Regions from separate parts of the Homo sapiens genome. Here region 1 is linked to region 2. The links are contacts of gene promoters, found by promoter capture Hi-C in blood cells and fetal thymus (Javierre and others, 2016). All regions are on one chromosome and are shown on one strand. Each heading gives the region's core, a stretch centred on a gene start or on the middle of the fragment in contact. The rest is flanking DNA. Distances are from core to core; before and after follow the strand shown. Region 1 has its middle 16 kb from the start of MNX1-AS1. Region 2 holds the start of LINC03010 (long intergenic non-protein coding RNA 3010).

Region 1 (4,434 bases), core at 177-2,676, 1.6 Mb before region 2:
AAGGTGGGGACTCAGCCCAGGCGCAGGGGAAGTCCTCCCACTGTGGCCTTCCCGTAGGCTGAGCCTGCCGGCCTCGTCTGCAGCAACCAGAAGACCAGTGAGAACACGGTCCATAAAGAGCTACTGGCTTGTTCAACGACTCACGAGGTTTTTATGGAATGCTTACATTTTGAATTTTAGAAGCTAAAGACAAAAACCCAAAAAGCAGTCAGCCAGCGATTTTTGCAGGACATCTGTTTTCTTTGGCTCTCGTGAGAACACCCAACTGTAGGATTTTGAAGCTTGGTGGCTTTAGGTGAAATGCAAGGTCGTGCCAGGTTGATTTAGTGCATTATTAGCTGTTTATACAGTACTGAAGCAGCACATGACGTATGAAAAATGACTTTCCGATCTCAGGGAATAAATCAGGACTAGCAAGTGATTCCACTTAATACTTAACTTTAGCGAGTAAAATATTACACCTGTTATTATTCAGGGCAAACACAGCCCCTTCCATTTGTTTATTGAGGAAACAATTTATTTGAGGACATTTAATTGCAATAGTGAAACCTGACTTGGGGGGTTAATCCCAGTTTATCGATGCAATTAAAAGCAGTGTGTGCTGTGTCTCGTATTTATTATCTAGGGGTAGAATGTTGACACAACCCCGGTGTCGAGATGGGTGTGCTTGAGAGTATCTGCGCTGTGCGAGGTGTAAGGTGGATGTTGCGTCATGTGTACAGCAAACACAACTCTATTCTGTGTCAGCGTTTGCATAACCTAATTGGGGAAAGGCTTCTAATTTGATTTTACTTGGAGCAATATAGGTTCAAATTGTTATATAGATCCAGCATTGTTTGGTTTCTTGTCAATGATTCATGGTATTTTAATGCCCAGCAGGCAAATACTAAAGCTTCTCATCACACATTTGGCAGTATTCCACAATTCCCTTGGCCTGAATTCCGCCCCCTTTTTTCTTTCCCCACCACTAGATCCCCATCCTCCCATATCTCAGATGTTGCTGCCTCTGGTCTAAGTCAGTTCCTGGTGTCTGCTCCCTCACAGCTTGTTGAGGCCTGTGTCCCTTGCACACACCCAGGTCGGACGTTCTGACTGGGGAGTGTGAAGGCTGTGTCACTTCCCCTCTGTCCCTTCCTGGGATCCATCATGAAAGGCAGCCAGAGAAGGCAATTTCAAAGATTTTAAAAACTTCTCTATTGGCCAGGCGCGGTAGCCCCGCCTGTAATCCCAGCACTTTGGGAGGCCAGATCACGAGGTCAGGAGTTCGAGACCAGCCTGGCCAACATAGTGAAAGCCTGTCTCTACCAAAAATACAAAAATTAGTCAGGTGTAGTGGCACGTGCCTATAGTCCCAGCTACTTGGGAGGCTGAGGCGAGAGAATCACTTGAACCCGGGAGGCGGAGGTTGCAGTGAGCCAAGACCACGCCATTGTACTCTAGCCTGGGGGTGACAGAGTGAGACTCCATCTCAAAAAAAAAAAAAAAAAAAAAAACCTCCCTTTTAGGGACCACTTCCCAACTCATTTTACAAGTCTACTATTTTGCTGACATCAAAGCCAGATAACGACACAGCCAGAAGAGAAAATGACAGACCAATATCCCTGATAAACATGGATGGAAAAATCCGCAACAAAACACCAGCAAACTGAATTCAACAGCACTTTAAAAGGATCATTCCCTGTGATCAAGTGGGATTTATCTCTGGATGCAACGATGGTTCAATATTACAAATCAATAAGTACAATATACCACATTAACAGAATGAAGGACAAAAACCATATGATCATCTCATTCGATGAATAAAAAGTGTTTAACAAAACTCAACATCCTCTCATGATAAAAAAAAATTCAACAAATTATGTATAAGGTAGAAGGAACGTGCGTGCCTCAATATAGTAAGGACCATATATGAAAAGCTCACCGCTAGCATCATACTCAATGGTGAAAAGCTGAAAGCTTTTCCTCTAAGATCAGGAACAAGACAAGGATACCCACTGTCACTGCTTCTATTCAACATTGTCCTGGAAGTCCTAGCCTAGCCAGGGCAATTAGGCAAAAGAAAGAAATAAAGAGCATCAAATAGGAAAGGAGGCAGTAAAATTGTCTCTGTTTGCAGATGACATGATCTTATGCACAGAAAACCCTGAAGACTCCACAAAAAACTGTTAGAACTGATCAACAAATTCAGTAAAGTTGACGGATACAAAATCAACAAACATAAATCAGTAGCCTTTCTATACACTACGAACTGTCTGAAAAGGAAATTAAGAAAATGATCCCATTTACAATAGCATCAAAAAGAATAAAATACTTCCATGTAAATTTAACCAAGGAGGCGAAAGATCTGTGTAATAAAACCTATAAGACACTGAAGAAAGAAATCAAAGAAGGCTACAAATAAGTGGAAAGGCATCCCCTGTTCGTGAATCAGAAGACTTAATATTGTTAAAATGTCGGTACTACCCAAAGCAATCTACAAATTCGATGCAATCCCTGTCAAAATCCCAATGACATTTTTTGTATAAGTAGAAAAAACAATCCCAAAATTCATATGGAACCACAAAAGACCCCAAATAGCCAAAACAGTCTTGAGAAAGAAGAACAGAGCAGGAGGCATTCCATTTCCTGATTTCAAACTCCATTGTAAACCTATGTGATAAAAATGAGCATGGTTCTGGCATAAAAACAGACACATAGACCAATGGAACAAAATCTAGGGCCTAGAAGTAAACCCACACATATACGGTTAACTGATATTTTTTCTACTTTATTTCCTATAGAGATGGGGTCTCACTAAAGCGCCTAGTCTGATCTTGAACCCCTAGGCTCAAGTGATCCTCCCATCTCAGTCCACCAAGTAGCTGGGATTACAGCACGTAACACCATGCCTGGCTCAGGTTAACTAATATTTGACAAGGATGCCAAGAATAGACAATGGGGAAAGTATTATCTCTTCAATAAACGGTGTTGGAGAATAGATACACACAAGCATAAGAATAAACCTTGACCCTTATCTTACACCACTCACAAACATTAACTCGAAATGGATCAAAGGCTTAAATGTAAGACCTGAAATGGCAAAACTCCTAGAAGAAAACACGGGAGAAATCTCATTGATATTGATCTTGGCAATGATTTTTGGATTTGACACCAAAAGCACAGGAAACAAAAGCAAAAATGAAGTAGGGCAATTTCATCACATCAGAAAGCTTTTGCACAGCAAAGAAAGCAGTCAACAAAATGGAAAGACAACCTATGGAATGGGAGGAAGCATTTGCAAACCACATATCTGATAAAAGGTTGATATCCAAAATATATCAGTAGCTCATACATCTCAATAGGAAAAAAAAAGTAATAATCTGACGTTAACACGGATAAAGGGCCTGAATACATATTTTTCCAAAGGAGACATACAAATGACCAACATGTACACAAAAAGGTGCTCAATGCCACTAACCATCAGAGAAATGCACATCAAAATCACAAGCAGCACTTTACACCTGTTAGCATGGCTGTTATCAAGAAGACAATAGGTAAGTGCTGGTGAGGGTGGAGAGAAAGAGGAATCCCCTACGCAGCTGGTGGGAATAGGAATTAGTGCAGCCATTACGGGAAACAGCTTGGAGTGTCCTCAAAAAATTCAGAATGAGAACTACCATATGACCCAGCCATCCCGCTTCTGGGTTTGTGCCCAAAAGAAACAAAGTCAATATCTCAAAGAGACATCTGCACTCCCATCGTTATTACAGCATTATTTGCAATAGCCACATCATGCAATAATCTGTCTACCAACAAATGCATGGAAAGAAAATGTGATACACACACACACACACACACACACAGGAATATTATTCAGCCATAAAAAAGGATGACATCCTGCCATTTGTGATGGCATGGATGAACCTTGAGGGCCTTATGCTAAGTGAAGTAAGTCAGACAGAAAAAGACAAAACACTGCATGATCATGAACAAATACTTGTTTTTGTTTGTTTTTTGAGACACGGTCTTGCTCTGTAACCCAGACTGGAGTGCAGTGGTGTGATCATAGCTCACTTCACCCTCAGACTCCCGGGCTGAGGTGATCCTCCCACCTCAGCCTCCCAAGTAGTTGGAATTACAGGCATGTACCACCATGCCTGGCTAATTTTTTATTTTTAATAGAGACAAGGTCTCACTATATTGCCCAGACTGGTCTCCCTTAAATGTGGAATCTAAAAAAGTCAAATTCATAGAAGCAAAGAGTAGAATGATAGGCCAGGGGCGGTGGCTCACGCCTGTAATCCCAGAACTTTGGGAGGCCAAGGCGGGTGGATTATCTGAGGTCAGGTGTTCAAGACCAGACTGGCCAACATGGCAAAACCCTGTCACTACTAAAAATACAAAAATTAGCTAGGCATGGTGGTTCATGCCTGTGATCCCACCTACTTGGGAGGC
Region 2 (4,475 bases), core at 1,679-4,178:
TGTTTGATCTTCAGCCCATTGGGTACTTAGGATACCGAATGGCCTTCCCATCTCACAGAGGAGAAAGCCGATTCCTGGAGGCCAAGTGAATTCCCAAACACCGTAGACAGAGCAGGAGCCAGGCGTGGGGTCTGAGGTTTGCAGGTCCAGCACCTGCCCCTTCTCCACTCCGAGTCAGGGGACACAACCTGAAGTCCTGGCTGTGTGCTGCCTGGCATGTAGACCCAGTGGAGATGCTGCCAAAATGAGCAATTGAGGGTTCCCCGGAGCCCCTCTCTTCTGAGCCCCAAATCTCCTCCAGCTATTGTCCCCATGCGCCCGTCGTTGGTGCTGCTGTGCTGCAGCCCTGGCTGGACCTGGATTCTGGTTCAGGGCGGGTGCAGGGACAGGGTGCTCCAGGGTGTGAGGGCCCAGGAGGGCGTCAGGGGTACACCAAGCAGTGGGGAGAGCAGCAATAGAGCATCCCCACTTTTCTCCAAGTGCTCTCCTTCAGGAGCCGGGATGGGAAGGGCAGACGCGCACCATGTGAGAGCCACATGGCGAAGGCAGAGGTGGCTTTGGGATGCTGCACCTCTGAGCCCAGGGAGCAAGCGTTCCTGGAGACAGCAGAGGCCAACAGGGCGGGAAGGGCCCTGCCCACGCCTGGACTTTGGACTCCGGTCCTGTGGGGGAACACATTCCTGTTGTGTAGGCCCCCCGGTTTGTGGCACTTCGCTAAGGCAATGCCGGGAAGCTGATGCAGAGGGGTAAAGTGACAATCAGGCAGTGATTCCCCAACAGGTGAGCAGGACTGGGGAGGCTGGGGAGGCTGGGGAGATGACCCAGTCCACCTCCAGCACCCACCGCTGCTGAGAAGCCAGGCAGGAGGCAGTGGAGGGGAGGCGTTGAGAAGCGTGGAGACAAGCAAGTCTGGACCCTGCTCCGCAGACCAGACACCCCCCAGAGACACCCCCCAGAGAAGGCGGGCGTGGGAAAAGAGGCTAGGCTGGAACTACACCTGGGTGCCCCTCCTGGGAAGCAGGGGGTTTGTGAACACCTCCAAGGGGCCTCTCTGAAGCTGTGCTGTGGCTCTCGGCCTCCCCAGCCCCTGCTGGTGTGAAGAACACAGAAAGGGGTTGGAATAATCTAGCAGCTGCTTGCTGTCCCAGGCTGGCCAGCCCCCACAAAGTGTTCCCATCTGGCCCCAGCCTGCACAGGCAGCACTAGCAGCCCCCCGTGAGTAATTTGCAGGCTCGGATGGATGGGCAGAGCCCAACCAACTTCAGCCAGTGGAGGGAAGGCCTTGGCCTTTGCAGGTAGGGGAGACAGCTCAAGGCCAAAGATTCCCATCAAATCCTGAAACGCCTCTGCCCAGCCTGGCCACCCGAGACCGCACCCAGCCAGGAGCACTCCCCAGAGAGCCCACACACGCTTCCAGGTCTTCCTCCCCAGCCTGCCAACTCAGTCTCAGCATCACTGGTTTCATTTCACTTAAAAAAAATTTTGTTTCAATTTAGCTTCATTTGGTCATTTTAAAGAATAAGTTGTCTGTGCCCCCAGGTAGGGTTATTTTCTATGTTGCCCATCCTCTGCATAAGGCGTCACTGTCCCTGGGAATATACAGGGATTCTATGCCTGGCCTCGGAAACTGAAATGAAATAAATTTGCACCATGAGAGAGTAGGTCCAACTCTGCACAAATTAAAACAAAACACAACAAAAAATGTTTCAGCCAGAAGTAACATTCGACATGGTCTACCCCCATCAGCTCCTTTTACAGGTGAGGAAGTGGAGGCCTAAAAAGCTGGGAAGACTTGCTCAAGGTTATGCTCAAGGTTACATCCACCTCTTCCTGCAGGGTAGAGGCTGGAGGGTCTCAGAAAGGCTCCCTCCCTCCCTTCCTGCTTCACAGCTGGGGACTGGAGGCCCAGATCCAGACCCAGAAGCTGGAAAGAAATCCCAGGTTGTGAGGCCCGTCCTCCCACTCAGCCCCCAACTCTAGGCCTGGGACCCTCCACAGCCCTCCAGGCACCAGGGGACCAATCGGGATGGAACCAGCCCCTCAAGACCCAGGGCCACTACCTAGCAAGTCCCTCCTTATCTGGGTAGCCTATACCCCCCACCTTGCCTTCCCCAGACCCTGTGCTAGGGACCCCTGCCTCAGGAAGTGAGCCCTACTGAACAGATGGGGGGCGGCATTTGTGGCTCGCGGCCTCTTTCTCTGTCCCTCCCTCCCGGCCTGCCCCCTGCCCTTCGAAGAAATTGAATTCCAAGGAGGAAGAGGGGAGAAAGAACACCCAAACCCCTGCCTTCTCACTGCATAAATACCTAAATCCCGGGTCCTCCAGAGCCTGCCTGGAGCCTGCCAGCCGCTGCCTGCGGTCCTGCCCACAGCCTGAGGTCCCGGCCTGCACCTCCTCATAAGCCCACACTGGCGGTGCCATGCCATGGGCTCCCCTGGGCTCCCTCTGCCGCCCAGCCTGCCCCGCACACTCCACTCGCGCCGCCCGCCCTTTGCTGCAGGACGGGGCCAGCCAGGGCAACTCTCCGCAGCCCAGAGCTCTCGTCCCTTGAATCCTGCCGGTGGAGCAGGGGGCAAGGGGGAGCCAGGCACGCCCAGCCCCGGACCCGCAAGCAGGGACCCTCGGGGCGGCGGTCCGCACAGGGCAGGGGCTGCTGGAGACCCGCGGCCCCCACCCCCGACACTCACCGCGCGGTGCCCAGCGCGCGCCAGGGCTCCCATCAAGTCCTCTCGGAGCCCGCAGCAGGCTCCCACTTCTGTTTTTCTCTGACAGCCATGCAGGCAGCAGGCCTTCAGCCAGGCTCCCCGCCGCGCTTCCACGCACGCACACTCACAGTCACGCTCGTGCACACTCGCACGCACACGCACGCTCACGCTCATGCACACTCACACTCACATTCGTGTACATGTACACATTCACACCCGCATGCACACTCAAACTCACGCTCACGCACACTCACGCTCGTGCACGCGCACGCATACACACGCCCGCGCTCACACGGACACGAGAACTCGCCCCGCTGCGCGCCTGGCTCCCGGGACGCCTGGAGCTGGGGAGCGAGGGCCCCGGACGCCTGTAGCCGCCAGGGGAGGCCGGAGGGGCAGACGGGTGCAGAGAGCAGCCGGAAAGGCAGTGCCCGGCCACCAAGAGGCCGATTACTTGAGGGGCCTGAGGTGTGGAGCCCAGGCCGAAGACCCTGGGTGCGAGAAGGCAGCGGCCAGGAGGCCGCCCTAGAGCCTCGGGAGCGGGCGGGGGAAGGGGGATGTCCACGGAGACCAGAGTTGGTGGCTCTGACCGAGGAGGGCCTCGCGCTCCCCACGCCACTTGGCAGGGCTGGGGACACGCGCCCTCTCCCCCCTCTCCCTGGGGCCGCGCAGGGCTGTACCCGGGCTCTGCCCAGATCCCCTCGGAGCGGAAGATGCAAGTTGGCTTTTGTCTGACCCGGTCAGACAGAGCCGTTCTGTGGGATAAAGGCTTAACGCTCCGTGAACACGCAGAAAAAGCTCCGCGCTGGCCCTCTGACAATCCCATTGTCTCGGGCCTGAGCCCGGCGGTTTGGTCTGAAAGCGCCAAGTTCATGACATTTCAAAGAGCAATGATACTGGGAGAGGGGGGTGGGCAGGGGAGGGAGGGGTGTGCAGGAGAAATACATTCCTAAAATACGAAGTAACAGTATCTGACTCCCTCGCCAGCGCGTTCCTCAGCTCAGCCCCCTGCCCCACCCTCCACGAACCCATTCAGACCGAATCCCCTTCTCCAGCCCCGTGTGGACCCAGAGCCAGGCTGCAAAAGTCAGGATCACCAGGGACTGCGGTTTGGAAGGTGAAGGTGTGAAAAGATGCCCAAGTAGCTGCGTGGAAGCTTCCTGGAATGTCAGCAGAGTGACAGCAGCCGTTTAGCACAAGCTCCCATTGTCTGCACTGCCCCACAAGATAAGAATTTGCCAAAAAGGACTTTAGGTGCCCACATGAGTTTATTTTAAAGAGCTAGAGTGTTACTGTTTTCTTTCATTTGTATTACTGTTCGTACTATATCCTTTAAAAAAAAAACTATTTTCTGAGCCAGGAAGCAAAGGAGCTTCCATTTTTAGTGTTTAATTTGTTTAATGTGCCTCGGCAAAAGCAAATAATTCCTGAGAGAAAGCAGAATCCTCAGGAAATTGAATGTGTTTTGTCTCCAGCGAAGTTTCCCTTGAGTGATTTCGTTTGCTTTCTGTCTCGCCAAGCAGGCTCTGCACTGGGACCTCCAGCAGGCTGGGGCCAGGCTGGGCAGTCTGCAGCCCCTCTCCCCACCTTAGGTGGTGAGGCTTCTCTGATCCTCAGCCCACTGGCCAGGTAAACTGTGCTCCCGAAGAACAAAACGTAGCCTTGTAGAGTCATTCTAATGCGAGGAGAAAATAGGATTAGGCCAGAGTGTCAGCCAGGTAAGTCGGATTAACAGCAAGGTCCAATACATTTTGGCATTCTTGTGCTAT

Evidence for each region. The method cuts DNA at HindIII sites, captures the fragments that hold promoters and counts their contacts. A CHiCAGO score of 5 or more calls a contact.
Region 1: a contact is called between a fragment that was not itself captured here and the fragment with the promoter of LINC03010 in region 2, in 1 of 17 cell types (naive B cells). The highest score is 5.7, in naive B cells.

What each region holds. Positions count from the first base shown.
Region 1 is chr7:157,024,324-157,028,757 of GRCh38, reverse strand. No RefSeq gene overlaps it. Among named protein-coding and RNA genes, the nearest start is that of MNX1-AS1, 16 kb to the right of the region's middle. The HindIII fragment of the contact is 1,064 bases long and covers 895-1,958 here.
Region 2 is chr7:155,380,529-155,385,003 of GRCh38, reverse strand. It overlaps LINC03010 (long intergenic non-protein coding RNA 3010), which reads right to left and starts at 2,928. Exons shown (of 3, transcript NR_147174.1): 1 at 2,689-2,928. RefSeq lists enhancers at 2,059-2,870, 2,871-3,682. The HindIII fragment of the contact is 8,785 bases long and covers 1-3,864 here.